3 separate regions of the Homo sapiens genome follow, and regions 1 and 2 are each linked to region 3. The links are contacts of gene promoters, found by promoter capture Hi-C in blood cells and fetal thymus (Javierre and others, 2016). All regions are on one chromosome and are shown on one strand. Each heading gives the region's core, a stretch centred on a gene start or on the middle of the fragment in contact. The rest is flanking DNA. Distances are from core to core; before and after follow the strand shown.

Evidence for each region. The method cuts DNA at HindIII sites, captures the fragments that hold promoters and counts their contacts. A CHiCAGO score of 5 or more calls a contact.
Region 1: a contact is called between a fragment that was not itself captured here and the fragment with the promoter of SLC5A9 in region 3, in 2 of 17 cell types (neutrophils and monocytes). The highest score is 11.6, in neutrophils.
Region 2: a contact is called between a fragment that was not itself captured here and the fragment with the promoter of SLC5A9 in region 3, in 1 of 17 cell types (neutrophils). The highest score is 5.5, in neutrophils.

What each region holds. Positions count from the first base shown.
Region 1 is chr1:48,503,341-48,507,220 of GRCh38, reverse strand. No RefSeq gene overlaps it. Among named protein-coding and RNA genes, the nearest start is that of SPATA6, 33 kb to the right of the region's middle. The HindIII fragment of the contact is 5,146 bases long and covers 1-3,880 here.
Region 2 is chr1:48,521,743-48,525,214 of GRCh38, reverse strand. It overlaps a transcript of AGBL4 not described here. Among named protein-coding and RNA genes, the nearest start is that of SPATA6, 51 kb to the right of the region's middle. The HindIII fragment of the contact is 5,195 bases long and covers 1-3,472 here.
Region 3 is chr1:48,221,119-48,225,131 of GRCh38, reverse strand. It overlaps SLC5A9 (solute carrier family 5 member 9), which reads right to left and starts at 2,416. Exons shown (of 14, transcript NM_001011547.3): 1 at 2,234-2,416; 2 at 337-408. The coding sequence starts at 2,395. The HindIII fragment of the contact is 4,425 bases long and covers 1,166-4,013 here.

The DNA.
Region 1 (3,880 bases), core at 118-2,617, 280 kb before region 3:
GCCAATGGCCTGAGAACCAGGGGAGCTGAGGGTGTAAGTCTCAATCCAAAGGCAGAAAAAGACTGATGTCCTAGCTCAAACCGTCAGGCAGAAAGAGATCATTCAACCTTCCTTTGCCTTTTTGTTCTATTCAGACCTTCAATGTGTTGCATGGTGCCCACCCACACTGAGAAGGGCAAATTGAATTATGCTAATTCAAATGCTAATCTCATTTGGAAACACCCTCACAGACACTTCCAGAAATACTGTTTAACCAGACATCTGCACATCTCATGGTCAAGCTGACACATAAAATTAACCATCATTATCAAAAACAGAAAAAAACAGACATTATGGGCTTTCTGTTGAGAGAACACGTCACTATCTATATTTTGAAAAAAACAAAAAACTCTGAATCTGAACAAGTCTCTAGATTCAATTACTAATTTTCATGAAATGCAGAGAAACTTATTAACCTATACCATGAGGGATCAATCAGTAAAACTGAGACTTAAGTCACCTAAACATCAAATAACCTAAGATCATCCAAAATAAATTGCAAGTGTAAGGATGGGGAGTTAGAGGGGGATACTTTAAAGAGATTGTGAAACATATAAAACAGGGAGAACCAATCTGTATTATTTAGAGATTCACCCTAAATGATAAAACTATAGAGAAATACAAAAGAGTGATTACTATAAAAATTAAAGATAATGGTTACTTTGAGAGGGGAGGAAGAAGGCTGTGATGGGGTATATGAAGGGCTTTTGAGCTAGTTAGCGATGTTCTATTTCTTGACTTTGGCGGTAGCTATAGGGCTGTTTGCCTTAAAATAATCCAATAATCTACTCAACTGTAGCTTTGTTTCATGTGCTTTTCTGTATATGTGTTTTATTTTATAATAAAGAAGTGTTAAGTCACTATTAAGAAAGTGATTTGAGGCTGGGTGCGATGGCTTAAGCCTATAATCCCAGCACATTGGGAGGCTGAGGCAGGTGCATTGCTTGAGCCCAGGAGTTTAAGACCAGCCTGGGCAACATGGTGAAATCCTGTCTCTATAAAAAATACAAAAATTTAGGTGGGTGTGATGGCGCATGCCTGTCCTCTCAGCTACTGGGGGTGCTGAGGTGGGAGGATCATCTGAGCCCTGGGGGTGGAGGTTGCAATGAATTGAAATCACGCCACTGCACTCCAGTCTAGGCAACACAGAAAGACCCTGTCAAAAAAAAAAAAAAAGAAAAGCGATTTGAGTGGGAGAAGATATTTGTACCCATATAATCAACAAAGGAGAATATTCAAAACACAATAAATAACTCCTGAAAATTCATTAGAAAATAGTAATCAACTGTGTTGTAGAAACAGATGGAACACTCATATTGACAAATTTGTGGAGAGTTTTACAAACATAAATTTACAAGATTGAGAGTAGGGTGTAGGGAGACCACAGTTACCCCTCCAAGTCTGAAAGGACAAGGAGACATAACAGTCCCTAGAATCTAGAAGCACAAAGAGTTGCTGCAGAGAGCTGCCTTCCAGAAATTGTGGTCAAAGGATGCAGTCAGCCCCTTCTGACTCTGCAAAGAGGAAGGTGGTGGAATAAATACTCCAGTCTCCCTTCCCTTCCTCCCTTCAGTGCTCAACAAGTGCTGAAGTTAGAGGTCAAGGATCCCATGTCTGTAATCCATTTGGGTCAGCCTCCGAGGACAAAAGGCAGAGTAAAGAAGTTGTGAATGGATCTGGAGGTGCAACTGAAAGATGTCCTGCACAAAAGCTCTGTAGACAAGTGATCAAAAAAACTTAAATGGCCAAAACTCTTATAAGAAGGTGTTCAACCTGATTCGTAATTAGGGAAATGCAAATTAAAGCCACATGACATAAAGGCAACAAGTGAGGCCAGGCGCAATGGCTCACGCCTATAGTCCCAGCACTTTGGAAGGTTGAGGCAGGTGGATCACCTGAGATCAGGAGTTCAAGACCAGCCTGGCCAATATGGTGAAACCCTGTCTCTACTAAAAATACAAAAATTAGCTGGGCATGGTAGCGGGTACCTGTAACCCCAGCTACTTGGGAGGCTGAGGAAGGAGAATTGCTTGAACCTGGGAGGCAAAGGTTGCAATGAGCTGAGATTGCACCATTGGACTCCAGCCTGGGTAACAGAGTGAGACTGTCTCAAAAATAAAATTAAAAAAAAATAAAAAGGCAACAAGTGTTGGTGAGGATATAGAGAAACTGGAACATTTGCACACTGTTGGTGAGAATGCAATATGGTGCAGCTGTTTGAAAAACAATATGGAGGTTACTAAAAAAAATGGAACTACTATATGATCCAGCAATTCCACTTCTGGGTAATGATCCAACTGAACTGAAATCAGGATCTCACACTTCTGGGTAAAGATCCAACTGAACTGAAATCAGGATCTCAAAAAGATATTAGCACTCTTATGTTCACTGCAGCACTATTCACAATAGCCATGATGTGCAAACAACCTAAAAGTCCATTGACAGATGAATGAAAAAAGGAAATGTGGTATATATATATACAAAGAAATACTCTTCAGCCTTAAAAAAAGAAGAAAATTCTGCAATATGCAACAACATGGATGAACCTAGAGGACATTATTCTAAGTGAAATATGACAGTTGCAGAAAACCAAATACTACAGAATTCCTCTTATGTATCTAAAATAGTCGAATTCATAGAATGAAAGAGTAGTTGCCAGGGGTGTGGGGAGGAGGAAGTGGAGAATGACTAATTGGTGGGCATAAAGTTCCAGTTAAGCAAGATGAATAAGCTCTGGAGATCAGCTGTACAACATTGTATCTATAGTCAACAATAAGTACTGTACACTTAGGAATTTGTTAAGAGGGTAGATTTCAGATTATGTGTTCTTACCACAATCCAACTAAGTTAACTTTTAAAAACGTCAGATTAACAAGAATTTAAAAGTCTGATAGTACCACATGTTGGCAAGGGTATGGAGCAATGGGAACTCTTCCACCACTAAGTACATCAATTGGTATGATTTTGAAAAATAATTTGGTGTTATATAATTCAGTTGACAATACTCTCAGGCTATGACCCAACAATTCCACTCCTGGGTATATATTCTAGAGAAACTGATGCCCAAGTCCTGAGGGAGGCATACACAAGCATACCTAAAGCAGCATTGTTTGTGGCTGGGTGCGGTGGCTCACGCCTGTAATCCCAGCACTTTGGGAGGCCGAGGCAGGCAGATCACAAGGTCAGGAGATCAAGACCATCCTGGCTAACACCGTGAAACCCCGTCTCTACTATAAATACAAAAAATTAGCCAGGCGTGGTGGTGGGTGCTTGTAGTCCCAGCTACTCGGGAGGCTGAGGCAGGAGAATGGTGTGAACCCGGGAGGCGGAGCTTGCAGTGAGCCGAGATCGCGCCACTGCACTCCAGCCTGGGTGATAGAGCGAGACTCCATCTCAAAAAAAAAAAAAAAAAAAAAAAGCAGCACTGTTTTCAATAACATGATGGGAACAACCCAAATGTCCACAAACTGTAGAATGAATAGATAAAATGTGCTATATCCACATGATGAGATTCTACTCAACATTAATAACATTGCAACTCACAACAATACAAATGAATCTCAATGTATTGCTGATTGAAAATAGCAAGACATAAAAAGTACATAATGTGTGATTAAATTTACATTAAATTTAAAACAGAGAAAACTAAGTTAAATCATGTATGCATACATACGTAGGTGATAAAAATATAAAACAAAGCAAGAGAATGATCTCGTAAAGGTCAGAATAGTAGTTACGCCTAAGGAGAGGGAAGAGGTAGATGAACAGATCAAAGGGACAGGAGGTGCTGGGGAATAGTCCGAGGCTGCTGGAAGTGTTCTATTTCTTTATAAGGACGTGT
Region 2 (3,472 bases), core at 204-2,703, 300 kb before region 3:
TACCAATTCAACTTTCCATTTTCTTGGACTGAGATGTTTAGAGAGGGCCAAAAACAGTCTTACTCATTTATGGGGCCCAAGAGCCTTAGCATAAGGCCAGAGACAGAGAAGCCATTCACAGAGAATTTGTGGCTGTTGCTGCTGCTGCTGGTGGCGAAAATGAGACTGAGGATGCCTGCTCCAAGCAGAACATTTTGGTGATGCTGACACCCCTCCTTTTCTCTCTCCCTCCAGAAGTTCACAAATAAAAGCAACCCTGAAACTTCTGGATAAAGTGGAGCAAACCTAGCTTATAGGCCCATATAGGAAGTTGTGAGACTTTAGGCTAATAGTATCCATAGGGCAAAAACAAAAAAAAAAAAAAAAGGAGAAAGCTGGGGAGAGACTACGACAGGTAAAAGAGATAAATTGACTATGATGTATTTGAATGTATGTGTGTGTGTGTGCTACCATTATGTGAACATCTTATATGAATAACTTCTTTATATTTGTGTGTGAAAATGCATAAGTTTGTTCAGTTGTGAATGTTTTTACTGAATATTAGATGACAGATCATTGTCAAATCTAAGCAGATTTTTTTACATCTACTCATAGTCAGAGGTCCTGGGTTAAGCTGCTGTTTGAAATTCTGTCTACTTTCTTGACATTTCATCCATATTAATGGATCACCCCTCTGCCCCAGCCTCCCAGGGACTGTGCTCAGCACGATGTCAGGGCCACCTCTCCTCTTTCCCAGTCCCAGTGAAGGCTGATCCTGGCTGATTCAGCCAAGCCAGTCCCTCTGGGGTGGAGAGCTCACCAAGAACCCCCTTTTCAGACTCTGTCTCCAGGTGATCTTGTGTTTAGGTGTCTTTTCTGTATTTCAGCTTTGTGTTCCTGTCTTTCTCTTTTTTTTTCTCTCTTCAGATCAGCCTTGACTAAAGGTTGAAAAACATTGCTTGTGTGGTGTTATGAAGAAGTGAGAGGTAGTTCTCCTTAATACCCCTAATACCTCTCCAAAGTGCTCCTGGAGCTGAAATTCCATGATTCCAGGGGGTTTGTTTCTGTTCAATTTCAGAAGCACTCACTGAGGGCCTGCTCTAAAATAGGTCGAATACCAGGTGGTGGTCAAAAGTGAAGGGCACACAGCTGTGAAATACAGTCACACACCACCTCACAATGTTTCAGCCAATGATAGACTACCTGAATGACAGTGGTCCCATAAGATTATAATACTATATTTTTATTGTACCTTTCCTATGTTTAGATTTTTTTAGATACACAAATGCAAGCATTGTGTTATAATTGCCTACAGCATTCAGTAGAATAACATACTTGACGGGTTTGTAGCCTAGGAGCCATAGGCTGTACCATGTAGCCTAGGTGTATAGCAGGCCACACCATCTAGATTTGTGTAAGTACATTCTATGATGTTCACACAATGATGAAATCACCTAACAATGCATTTCTCAGAACGTATCCCTGTCATTAAACAATGCATGACTGTACATTGCTCTGGCCTAAAGAGCAGCTCCACGGAGCTTGAGACTTTGCCTTTACTGAAAAGCAAATACATGGGGTGGGGACTTTCAAACATTAAGCCTGTTTGCCATACATGCCTTAATTCATTCTTTTCTAAGTTAAATATTCATTCTTTCTTTTATTCATTTATCCTTAGGGAGGCCATGTGGTTTGGTTGAAAGAGCACTAACCCAGAGCCTGGATTTAAGCCTAATTCAGCTGCTGTCATTTCCCCTCTTTGAACCTCAACTTCCTCACCCACAGAATGGAATTAAGCATTATTGCTGTTTCTAAATCACAGGATTACTTTGAGGAATTTCAGGGAAAGTGAATGTAGTGGGGAGAAAGAACTCACATTCTCTGAGTTCCTACTAGAGGCAGTACTTTGCATGCATCCATTCTGTAGCCATACAATAGGAAGGGGATGGGGACAAGTGAGGACATCAGGAGCAGGGACAAAGGCCTAGAAATGATCCATTAGAAGGAGTCTTAACTGGAAGCAGAGAGACCTGGAATCTAATCGCAATATGTTCCCAGCATTTATATAACTTTAGAAAAGTCACTCTCCCTCTCTAAGCCTCAGTTTTCCCATCTACAAAATGGAATCTGTTGAAGTAGGTGATCACTAAGGGCTCCTCCAGTTCTGCCATTTTGGGTCTCTAGGAACACCCCCTTCAACCCACTTGCCTACCCTAAAAATGATCTCACACTGACCCCAGTATGCATGTCAGGTTGCTAAACCCTAATGAGGACTAGGTAGTGAAGTTTCTTTCTTTTTTTTTTTTTTTTGAGATGGAGTCTTGCCCTGTCGCCCAGGCTGGAGCGCAGTGGCACGATCTCGGCTCACTGCAACCTCTGTCTCCCAGGTTCAAGCGATTCTTCTGCCTCAGCCTCCTGAGTAGCTGGGATTACAGGTGCACTCCACCATGCCCAGCTAATTTTTGTATGGTAGTGAAGTTTCATACTTAGTTCAGCAACTCTGGTGGTGATTCCCGCCTTCCAAAGATTCTTTCTGTCCTCAGACTTAATGCTGAACCAGAGACCTCTGGAGAGGTGAGACGAGCTGGTGACACCACGAACCTTGCATACAAGAGATGCAGTACTGAGGACCTAATTAACATCACCGTGCAGTAGGCACCATGGAGCACACTTGAGCTGCCAAAGAGAATAAATAAAGCAGTGTTTTATCTTAAGTGTTGATTAACAGTGAGTAATAAATAGACCGTGTCTTATTTACTATGCCTTCCCTGCACAGGCCTGCTATGGCTGACCTAGACCTTGTGAGACAGCATACCCTGATTTCAAGTGTGTGCATTATAAGTTGCTTGTCAAGCAGCTGGAGAACTGGGCTTCTGACTGGATGTTGTAATAGACTCATGCAGAGATGTGGGCACAAGAGTCTGGAATCTGATGTCTGACAGATCAAACTTAGAGTCCTGCTCTGCCACGATGTGGCCTTGAGCCATCCCTGTGAACCTGTTTACTCACTTTAAAAATGAGATTAATTAATGTCTGGGTTACAGGAAGGTTGTGAAGGGTGGATGATGAGAAGATATAAATAAAGACCAAATGAAAGTGTCCCACAGAGGGTAGGTATTGTTCTCAGTCACATCCACATTACTCTTACGCTTAGTATTTCTAAGTCAGTCAAACCAACACCCTGACATACATTATAAATGGGTAATGTGGCCCCTCATTATAACTGACTAATAATGTAACAGGGTCTTTACCAACATCAGGTGGTCATTTGTCCGCGTCCAAGACTGTCTTCTCTCTTCTCACTATAATATCAGCATTCATTCATTCCTTAGTAAGGTTTACCATGGTATCTTAGTTTGGGTTCTTCCAAAAGCAGAGACTGCAACAAGGAACTGACAGCGAGTAGTTTATATGCCAGGTGATACCAAGAAGCAGAGGTAATGGAGAGGCAAAAGAGAGACCAACAGAGAGAAAAAACAGGAAGGGTGTGTTA
Region 3 (4,013 bases), core at 1,167-3,666:
AGCAGTGCGCATGATGTTTATGAATCTATCTGCCCCACTCAGCTCTGAGCTTCTCTAGGACAGGGACATTCCAGATTCATCACTGCAAGTCAAGTGCCAGATGTAGGGCCACACCTAGGAGGGGCCAGGGGATGTTTGTCCAAGGTGCGTGCTAGCAGGACCACTCAGGTTGCGGGGCGGGTTTGGGCGGGAGAGAAGGGGCCCAGAGTCAGGAAACACAACGGGGAGGTCTTTGCCTTGGTCCAGGTGTGAGAAGATGGGACAAGTGCTTGGATAGTGGGGAGGAAGAAAGTTGGGAGCCTCTGCACTAGGGGTGGTTGAGAAGGGTCAACTCACTGGCCACCAGCTCATGGACCTCCCGGCCAGGAAATAGCCGCCAATGGTCCCTCGACTTGCACGGATGGACGACTGGAAAGGAAATAGATGAGATGAGGATTTCTCAAGACTCTCTGAACCTCTGCCCTGCCCCCTCCCCGCAGATTTCCTTCCCCTCGGTGCAGGCACTGTGGGGACACAGAGGGTGAAAACTGAGGCAGAAGAGAGCTGCCTGAGGCTGGTTCCACAGTTTCTAAGCGATGTATCTTGGCAGAGTCACTTTCTCTGTGAGCCTCGCCATTCATCTCCCAGGGCCAGTGCGAAGAGCAAAGGAGGTAACGGATGTCACGTGTGTGAAGCCATTGATTGTGCACTCTTGTCCCCTTATCCTTCCCTCCCCAAAGTGCGCTTTCAGAGTATGATTTGTTATCACCTCCTTAGATGTGTAGTGCTCACCCTTTCTCTGAGCTGATCCCCTCCCTGCTCCCAGCTGAGCTCCCACACTGGAGGCGGGAGGACAGAGAGGGCTGCAGTTTGACTGTGAGACTTTGAGCCCTGAGTAGAGTTATGGGTACTGTTTTGGAGTTTCCCTTGCCCTGGGTTGAAATCAGATCACGCCACTGAGCCCCATCCAGGACCTCCCTGTCTTACACCAGTAGGTGGTCAGTTAGCAGCCTGTTGGAATATTCTCTGGAGATACAGGGTGAGGGCAGGGCAGTGGGTAGGGAAGGATGAACTTGAAGCAGCTATTCAGATGCAAAAGCCAACAGTTCTCTGACTTTCCCCTAAGGGAAAATAATCAGTCACGAGGGAGTGATAAATATGTGTGGGGCCTTGTGCTTGTTAAGCTTTTGCTTGTATTTTCCTTGTCAGCTCTGATCCTCTTGGAGGCCATACGAGCAAAACAGATCCATTTTACAGATGTGAAAATGGAGGCCCAACATTGGAAGCAATTTGTCCAAAGTCACAGAGGAGTTGGTGCTTTTCTCGGCTGGCCACTTCCAGGAGCCAGTGACCATCTGTTAGCCCAATTCTTCCTCACACCAGCACTAGAAGGCAGGGACTGTTCACCCCCCTTTATAGATGAGGAAACTGAGGCTCAGAGAGGGTCTCTGACCTGGCCACAGCCTAGGAAGTGACCATCTGGGACTTGAATCACAGCAGAGTCTAAAGGTGCTCACACTTCTGTGGAATGCGTGGTGATAATAGCAGCCATTTATTGCCTGCTGATCGGGCACCAGGCACCGTGCCAGGTGCTGCAGTATGTCCTGTTGCTGAATGATCACAGCATAGTCCTTATTCTCATTGTTCACCTGAGAAAGCTGATAGGCCTCATATGTTCCCAGGGACATGAGGCTCTCATTGTTGCAGCTGGGACCTGAACTCAGGTTTCCCTGACCCCAAAGCCTGGCCCCTGCCTCTAGCACTGAGGCTCCTGGGAACAATGGAGAACAGAGGAACCTTGGAATAAGCCTGGCACACTTCCCTGAGAGCACATGAGCCCCTTCTCATTTAGAAATCACCTTAGCCAAGATGCTAACGAATGCAGGACTGAGGTAGGGCCAGGGGTCAAGAGTTCTCAGAGTTGGGGGCCTTGGGGTGGGAAGAAGGAAGGAGTGAGGCTCAGGGCAACCAGGGATGGTTGGGGCCAAAGGCAGCAGGTGCTCAGAGAGGAGTCAGGAGTCGGGGGCCTGGTCTGCCTCTGACTCTCTGTGTGACCTCAGACCAGCCACACCCCTCTCTGCCCTTCTAAAAATGAGGAGATCAGGAGCCTGATTCCTGAAGGCCCTTCCTTCTCAGCCACATGGTTCTATGATCTGCTTCTTTCTGCCTAGCCCTGCCCCAGCTCCACAGCCCCACCCAAGCTGAGAGACCACTACTACCTCCCCTGCTAGCCCCAGCCTCAGGGCCCACTTACCCAGATCCCCACAGCAATGACGAAGACAAAGTAGATGACCACCACGCTGATGTCGTAGGCGTGCAGACCAACTCTGGAGTCCAGTGCTATGTGTGGAGCTGTCTCAGTCCTGACCCCGTCCCCTGAAGCTCCAGGCCCCATTGCTGCCAGCTCCTTGCTCATCTGTTAGTGTTGGTCAACAGCAGGCTGGACTTTGAGGCGCTCCTGGCTTCATTCCTTTCCTTTAATGATTAAACTGCCCCAAGCACCATTAGTTGGTGAGAAAACTCTGAGCCCTGCTGGCACATACAGTCCTGCCTCCTTTTCTCCCAACTGCCACCACCAACCCCTGCAGGACTCCTTCCTTCCTCTTCCTTGCTGCCACTACGTGCACACACATACATGCATGTGTACACACAGGCACACACATACACGCAATCTCCCTAACCCCAGATGAGCAGGAGGAGAAAGGAGGGGGAGGAGGAAGAGGAGAAAAGGAGCAGAATATTGGAACCCCAGAGGTGGGAAGGACTTCAGAAATCAAAGTGTTCAAACTCCTGTGTGGTGGGAAAACCAAGGCCCAGGGAAGTAAAGGTGGAGCCGGGACTGGAGTCCAATTTTCTTAAGAGTTCAATACAATTGTCTTTTACCTAGTGAGAGGAAGACAAGGGGAAGGAGGTGAGGAGTCTACTGTGACCCTAGCAAAGTGGCCACCACCTCATGTACTCCCATTCCAACCTACCTAGATGTTGCTTTCTCTTTTTATATAGTGTAGGAAACTGAGGCTGGGGAAGACATCATCATTTATTCCAAGGAACTAGGCAGGGCCATCTCTGAAAAGGCAGAGCCAGAATTCACATCTTCTGATGCCTGACCCATACTTCCTATTCTGTACTGTGACAGATGAAATGGTTGTGGTCAGGAGGCCTTCCCTGAAAAAGATACAGTGCTCCCTGGGTCCAGGGAAGACCATCTCTGGGACTCAGGCAGCCTAGATTTCAGTCCCAGCTCCACCTCTCACTGAACTACAGATGCCCTTGGGCAGGTTGCTAAATGTCTCTGGGCCCGGGTGTCCTCATCAGTGTGACCTGTGCCCTGCCTGCCTCACACCACCAATGAGGCTAAGATGTGCTCCTGAGAACCTCTGCAAACCCTGAGCTACTGAATGTTCTTGGGGTTAACACAAAGAAACCAACATCGACCACCATCTAGCCAAGGGGCCCAGATGCCACGCACTTAGATATCTGCTCACATGGTCCTTCCAAAGTAGCTGCATTTGGAATATTTCAGTCTTACAAATATTACTCTGCATGCATCTGCTGTAGGGCCCAGACTGGAGCAGCAGGAAAACAGATCTCACTGGCCCTGTCCCACACCCCATCCCCAGCTCTCACTGGCCCTGTCCCACACCCTATCCCCAGCATCTTATAAGTATCCCAAGGCTGGGTGTGAGGACCAGATCCTCTTTTTTCCCCTTTTGGTGGAAAGAAAAGTGAGAGGCAGGGTCCTAGGCCTTCTCTCCCCAGTTCTCCTATCCCAGAACATCAGGCACTGGCCAGGCTGAGCCCCGAGGAGAGGGATATTGATCTGGGAGAGAGGTCAGCATAGTCCCCAGCTGGACAGGGCTCTGTGGGATCTAGCACCTGTTAGGATTAGATACCAGAGGAAGAGTCCTTCATATACACGTTTAAAGGCAAGTTTATCAGACGAACAGGGATGCAGGAGGGGCAGCATTAGAAACATCAGGAAAATGTGATGGACCAGGTGCCCAGTGGTCCCTGGGGGTGAGCTGGATACAGGG